Regions from separate parts of the Homo sapiens genome. Here region 2 is linked to region 1. Evidence: promoter capture Hi-C in human tissues and cell types (Jung and others, 2019). All regions are on one chromosome and are shown on one strand. The core of a region is centred on a gene start or on the middle of the fragment in contact, and the rest is flanking DNA. Distances in the headings are between cores, read along the strand shown. Region 1 holds the start of NDUFAB1 (NADH:ubiquinone oxidoreductase subunit AB1). Region 2 overlaps SCNN1G (sodium channel epithelial 1 subunit gamma).

The links. Contacts are between HindIII fragments. The study calls those that stand out against the background at their distance.
Region 2: a fragment that was not itself captured here is called in contact with the fragment with the promoter of NDUFAB1 in region 1 in 1 of the 25 tissues and cell types used here (lymphoblastoid cells).

What each region holds. Positions count from the first base shown.
Region 1 is chr16:23,594,592-23,598,154 of GRCh38, reverse strand. It overlaps NDUFAB1 (NADH:ubiquinone oxidoreductase subunit AB1), which reads left to right and starts at 1,839. Exons shown (of 5, transcript NM_005003.3): 1 at 1,839-2,032. The coding sequence starts at 1,865. RefSeq lists a silencer at 2,092-2,181. The HindIII fragment of the contact is 9,015 bases long and covers 570-3,563 here.
Region 2 is chr16:23,183,968-23,187,530 of GRCh38, reverse strand. It overlaps SCNN1G (sodium channel epithelial 1 subunit gamma), which reads right to left. Exons shown (of 13, transcript NM_001039.4): 2 at 943-1,303. The coding sequence starts at 1,259. Among named protein-coding and RNA genes, the nearest start is that of SCNN1G, 3.0 kb to the right of the region's middle. RefSeq lists enhancers at 778-1,277, 1,278-1,779. The HindIII fragment of the contact is 3,555 bases long and covers 1-3,446 here.

The DNA of each region.
Region 1 (3,563 bases), core at 590-3,089:
GTCCAGGTTGGTCTCAAACTCCTGACATCAGGTGATCCACCTGCCTCAGCCTCCCAAAATGCTGGGATTACAGGTTTGACCCACCATGCCTGGCCCCCAGACACTCGAGTTTTAAAGGAATGCTATAATAAATAGAAATTATTTTACAACAGTGGGATGAAACTATGTTTTTTTTGTTTTCGTTTTTTTTTTTTGAGATGGAGTCTTGCTCTTTTGCCAGCCTGGAGTGCAGTGGCGCAATCTCGGCTCACTGCAACCTCTGCCTCCCAAGTTCAAGCGATTCTCCTGCCTCAGCCTCCTGAGTATCTGGGACTACAGGCGCGCACCACCACACCCAACTAATTTTTGTATTTTTAGTAGAAATGGGGTTTCACCATGTTGACCAGGATTGTCTCGATCTCTTGACCTCGTGATCCACCCACCTTGGCCTCCCAAAGTGCTGGGATTACAGGTATGAGCCACCGCGCCTGGCAGCATACCATTACATTTTATTTTACTTGGATTTAACAAAAATAAAAAGAAATTGAGGTAAAACTGGTGACATTATTGGATCATTCATTCAGGCAGATTTCAGAATTTGGAGTCATTATCCCGTGTGTTTCCATTTCAGTCAATATCCTTTAGCTCCCTGCTTAGAAATAGGAATTAGCCTTCTTAAACTCCTCCCTCGCTTACCTATTTTTGTTAGCTATTGTAAGGAACATGGCTGTGCTTTGGTCAAGGATAGGCCAAGGTAAGATGTTTACATCCTGCGTGACTCAGCAAGTTTAGACAGAGGCGTATAACTCCACTTGTTATCACAGCCATGTAGGCATAACATGGGAAGGTCATCACTTGGCTCTAAGCCACTATTTTCTGTAAAAGGTATAATTGCCCTGCTGATACTGTACAGGCGTTCGTGCCCAGAGAAAGAGAGAGCCAGAGCTGTCAGTCTTTGCAGACAGACAGGGGGAGCCAGATCACAGCTGAGAGAGAGTTAAGCTGCTGACCCTGAAGGCAAGGGAGAGCCAGCCTCGCAGTTGTGTGGGGGAGCCATGGGACTAAGCAGCTGAGACAAGGCAGACAGTGTGAGAGAACTAGTGTAAGTAAGCTGCTGATGAGAGCTGCTGCTGAATAAAATCATCTTTCACCTGCCTACCGTCCCCTGAGTGTTCTTTCAGCTATCTGTTCATCCACCCACTCCCCTCAGACCTCGATATGGGCTGGAACCTGGCTGTGGGCATGACAGTTGGCATAGTCGTGGACCTGACAGCTATATTATACACTGTCAAGTTTTAAAACATGTATATTGTTTTAATCGTAATTCTCACATTTATTAGTCTTAGGTATTGAAATTGATTATTTTTTCACATTATTATATATATTTTTTTACCTATTCAATAAATGTTAATACTTGTGGAAGAATTGTGGAATCAAAACTTTGTCCTTTTTTTCTTTTAATCTTTTTTGTAATAGAGACGGAGTCTTGCCGTGTTGGCCAGGTTGGTCTTGAACTCCTGAGCTCAAACAGTCCTGCCACCTTGGCCTCCCAAAGTGCTAGGATTAAAGGCGTCAGCCACCGCACCCGGCCCCAAACGTTTAAACAGATGTATTTCAGAACTTTCAGATAAAAAATGAAAGTAGGTTTCTCGTGCCGTGTCGTTTAGGGAAAGACGGCGACGTCTGCACAGTTTAGTTGTGACACCAAGCAGTTGTTCGTCCCCGAACCTGGATGGGCTCCGAGGGCGCAGTGCCTCCAGGAGCCGCCAGGGGCCGCCACCGCCGGCGGTGCCCGACAGCGCTGCCGTGTGCGTCGCCTGCGCGCCGCCGGAAAGGAACCCTGGTCCGGAGGCGGCGGCGCAGTGCATCCTGGGTTGGCGTAGCCATGGCGTCTCGTGTCCTTTCAGCCTATGTCAGCCGCCTGCCCGCGGCCTTTGCGCCGCTGCCCCGGGTCCGGATGCTGGCCGTGGCCCGGCCTCTCAGCACCGCTCTCTGCTCCGCGGGGACCCAGACGAGGCTCGGGACTTTGCAGCCGGCCTTAGTGCTCGCGCAGGTGACTCGTGGTGACTTTGCTGCCGCTTGGCAAGGGTCAGGGATTGGGCCCGGTGGGGGTGGGGGCCGGGCATCCGGGGCGCGCCAGCTGCAGGCAGGGGTGACCCGGGGGGCAGCCGGCTCGCTCCGCAGCCCCGCTGCCTAAAGGTGTTTAGTTGACCCCTGACGGGAGGCCGGGTGACCTCGTAATAACGAGCAAGAGCACTGACTCGAGTCCAGCACTGCTGGGCTGCCGCTTACCGAAACTTTGGACAAGTCTCCTAGCCTGGCTCACACTCACCTGCAAAATTGGGATCCTGGTCTCTACCTTGCGGAGTAGCAATGAGGATTAGATGAGTTAATGCGGCTAGAGCACCTCGTACGGTCTCAAAATAGCGGTCACCGTATTGTAGTGAAAGCAGCATGCAAAGAGGCAGCCACACTGGCCTACAGCCTTCTCCAGAGCGGTTTTCTCTCTGCAGTTCTGTCCTTACTCTTCCCTGCAGCACCTTCTGCCTGTGTCCAGGACTCCTGGAAGTAATTCTAGGAAACAAGCCAAGTGACCTTTGACCAATAAGGATTTGAATTGCGCGGGTCCACTTATATGCGGATTTTTTTTCAACCAAACGCGACCAGTATTTACGGGATGTGCCGCCCCGCGTATAAGGAGGGCAGGCTCTTCCTATAAGCGGATTCTGCAAGGCTGACTGCGGGACGTGAGTGTGCGGGGATTTGGGTATAGTCGGGGGTCCTGGAACCAATCTGCGCAAATACCAAGGAACGACTGTACCTGTAGTATATAGCTTGAGCTGATGAAATCTGCGTGAGGCTGAAACGCCGGGAGGCAGTGATTTCGGTGTTGTTGTTGTTGTTTTTGAGACAGAGTCTCGCTCTGTCACCCAGGCTGTAATGCAGTGGCGTGATCTCAGCTCACTGCAACCTCCGGCTAACGGCAACCTCCGCCTCTCAGGTTCAAGCAATTCTCCTCCCTCAGCCCCCCCGAGTATTTGGGACTACAGGCGCCCGCCACCATGCCCGGCTAAGTTTTGTATTTTTAGTGGAGACGGGGTTTCATCATATTGGCCAGGTTGGTCTTGAACTCCCGACCTCGCAATCCACCCGCCTCGGCCTCCCAAAGTGCTGGGATTACAGGCGTGAACCACCGCGCCCTGCCTTTTTTTTGTTGTTTTCTAAGTTCTCCAGATGACTCTGAAGTGCAGTTGGGAATAAAAATAACCGTCTTAAGGTAGGATAGACTCCCAAGGTCAAGTTATGAAACCCCTTTTCAAAGTCATAGACTTCAGGTAATAGTGGTTTCAACCTTGACTGCATGTTAGTGTGAAAAATAAGTGTGTCTGGCCAGGCGTGGTGGCTCACGCCTGTAATCCCAGCACTTTGGGAGGCCGAGGCGGGCGAATCGCTTGAGCCCAGGAGTTTGAGACCCTCCTAGGCAACATGGTGGAACCCCGTCTCTACAAAAAATACAGAAATTAGGCCGGGCGCGGTGGCTTATGCCTGTAATCCCAGCACTTTGGGATGCCGAGGCGGGCGGA
Region 2 (3,563 bases), core at 420-2,919, 410 kb after region 1:
GCTTGATATGGGGAGTGTGCAGAGGGGGTTAGTTCGTTCCAGGCCTCTTCTAAGTGAAACAAATCCTGCAGCTTCCTCTTTCTGCTCTCTCTGGGCTAGCCCATCCTCAGAAGTCATTGATGGAGTGGGTGTGGTGGTTCACTCCTGTAATCTCAGCACTTTGAGAGACCAAAGTGGCAGCACCACTTGAGCTCAGGAGTTTGAGACCAGCCTGAGTAACATAGCGAGACCCCATCTCTTAAAAAATAAAAAATTTTAGCTGGATGTGGTGGCATGTGCCTATAGTCCCAGCTACTCAGGAGGCTGCAGTAGGAGAATTGCTTGAGCCCAGGAGGTCGGGGCTGCAGGGAGCTATGATTGCACCACTGCACTCCAGCTTGGGTGACAGAGTGAGACCCTGCCTCCAAAAAAAAAAAAAAAAAAAGAAAAGGCCAGGTACTGTGGCTCACACCTGTAATCCAAGCACTTTGGGAGGCCAAGGCGGGTGGATCACCTGAGGTCAGGAGTTCAAGACCAGCCTGGCCAAGCATGGTGAAATCCTGTCTCTACTAAAAACACAAAAAAATTAGCCTGGCGCTGTGGTACACCCCTGTAGTCCCAGCTACTCGGGAGGATTGTTAGAACCTGGGAGGTGGAGGTTGCAGTGAGCCGAGATCGCACCACTGCATCCCAGCCTGGGCAACAAGAGCGAAACTCCATCTCAAAAAAGGAAAAAGAAAAGAAAAAAAACAAGTCACTGATGGTCTGAAAACTTGGTACATACAGATTTAGAACTGGGGAGGGGGCTGTTTACCAGCGTTAGCAACAAATTCAAATTTCTAGAAAGCACATTTGTAGGCTGGAATCGACCTCCAGGCTGCCAGTGTGTCACTTTCGGGAGGGGCTTTGGCCTCTGTGGGGGGCCTGGCTCCCTACTCGCGTTTCCCTGCTCATGCCTCTTACTTGTAGGGGTTGATGTTGCAGATGGTGACTGCAGGAAAATCCAGCTTCCGGAAGTGGACTTTGATGGAAACTGAGACAGTATAGAAGGAGAAGACGAGGAGGGCGCACTGCCAGAGGATGAGGGCCACGGCAGTCAGTGTGAACCCGATCCAGAGGAGGCGGCGCAGACGGCCGCGGGACACCACGATGCGGCGACAGCCATGGGTGTTGGTGTTGAGGCAGTACCACCGCATCAGCTCTTTAATGGTCGGCGCCTGAGGGCCCGTCACGGGCAGATTCTTCTTGATTTTGGCTTTGATCTTCTCTCCGGGTGCCATGGCGAGGATGGGACTTTGAGGACGGGACTCTGAGGACGGGCGTGCTGGAGGGGCAAAGAAGAGAAGCAGGTGAGCTGGCAGGCACTAGCCGGCTAGTGTGTCCCTGGAGACCACAGTCTGGGAAACACCAGTCCATGCGCCCTTAGAGACCTCCTTCCTCTGTTCCTCTGTGGCTTAGGCACTTTGCATTCTGAATCCTTGGCCCCTTTTCCACGGGACGTTTGTTTTTGGCCACCACAGCTGCCAGAGAAGCTGCCTACTTCTCTTACGGCCCCCAGGCCTAGCCGTGCGGGGGCTGGGTGAGGTGCAACCTGCGAAGCGCTGGCTGGACAGGCTGCAGGACCTTTCCCCGGGTTCCTGGGCAGGAACTCTGGAAGCAGCCCCATCAGCTCTCTTATCAGGCAGGGGTACCCGTGCCTTATCACCTCCAGTAGCCCGCCTTCCTCAAGGGCAGCATTCCTATCTCATTATGCCCCCTGGTTCCTAGCACAGTGTCTGGCACAGAGCAGTGCTCGGCAGATTGTAACTGACAGATGAAATCTGCCAAGAAAATTTCCCGGCAGCCACCTTAGATCATGTTCCTGGCTGCATTTTCCCCAGCCTTTTCTCTGAGGCTTTATTATAAGTGAAACGATTTCTCTTTTGTTTCTTCTCTTTACAGTCAAGCTCTTAATGTTTCTAGATCACCTGATGTAACAATAACCTGCAACTATTGGCCACTTAGTGTTTGCCAGGCATTGTGCCATATTTCCTTGATTCTAAGATACCATTAATTTAGAGAATGCCCTTGATTTAATAACAGCTTTGGGGGAGAGTACCAGTATTGGAAGGCAAATTATCACATTCATCAATGTGCACGATGCATCTCAACTATACAAACTTTACAATGAGAAATAATTTTAGAAATGAACTAATATACTACATAAAAACTCATTTCATGTTTATAATATATAGTCTCATTAGTCTCATAAGTAAATTTGTCTCTCTCTATAAATATACACATAGCCTACATATATTTCCTTTTGTGTTTCAATAATTCCATGAAGTAGGCATGCTATTATTATATCCATGTTACAGAGGAGAAAAATGGGCTCAGAGAGGTTGAATATCTTGTGTAAGATGATGCAGCTGGTTAGTGGAGGAGCTGGATGGAACCCTGCAGCCTTCACCGCTATGGCATACGCCTTTGAGGGGCCTGGTAGTACGCTGGGTGCAGGGAGTTAATTAACAATACCAAGAACTAAAGGTAGGAGGAAAGAGAAGGAACACAGCTATTTAATTTCCAAACTCTGAACAGTGCACATGACCACTTCCCAAGACTTGTGAGCACTAGTATTGGGGGTGGGGGATATATGAAAACTGTGTCGTCCTATGCCTTCTACAGTGACAAAGGCAAATTAGGACATATCCTAGGGCATACAGGGTGGTCCCCAGGACCAGAGAGGACCCATGTCTGTGACTTCGATGTGCCCCATCAAGATTTTTAGGCAGTATTCGGAACCTGCAGAGTTATGTCTTTTTTTCCCACCCTGAACCCATGAAATATGGGCTAAAATTGGAAGCTGGGGCAAAGCTAGGAGGCTTCCAAGCTTATGATGCTAGTGGGTTTAAGGCCTCAGATGGAAAGGAAATGGAGTGCTGGGCATGGAGGTGAGATGTCCAGAGCAGACAAACTGCTCTAAACCCTCCATAGATTGATATGATTTTGCTGGGATGAAGAACACCATCAAAATGATGCTAGTAGCCTCTGGGCAAGAGGAATATAATTTATTTTTTTATCACTTAAAATATTGCCTATCCTTACCTCCTCCCTCACTACAATCCAAAAAAATAAAAAATGAAATAAAGAAGAAGGAAAGAAAGAAAAAAATTAGCGAGAGTTTGTTTTTAAAATCTAGGTCCAGGTTCAATTGCTTGTCAAATAAAACTGCAGCCCTCCTCTGTGAATGTTCAACAGAAGCTGTGATTCTGGAAGCTCCTATCCCCAGCTCTCAGGGGTACCTCTGCCCCATCAGCCCCTTCCCCAGAACCGACCTTGACCCCAATGGATCAGTCGACAATGTCAGAGGAGCCCCCAAGTGAAGGAAGGGAACTGATCTTGCTCTTTGCAAAACAGATAAAATATTCATATAAATAATATTTCAACTTCAAAGCAAAACAAGACTGTAGCTACCATTAGATTATGCAGCCTGAGCCAATGTGATACCCTTGGTGGAAGAATTACTAGCTGATACCCAGCACTTACTCTTCTAAGTACTTTGCAGCTGTCACCTCATTTAATTTTCACGATAATCGTCTGAGGTA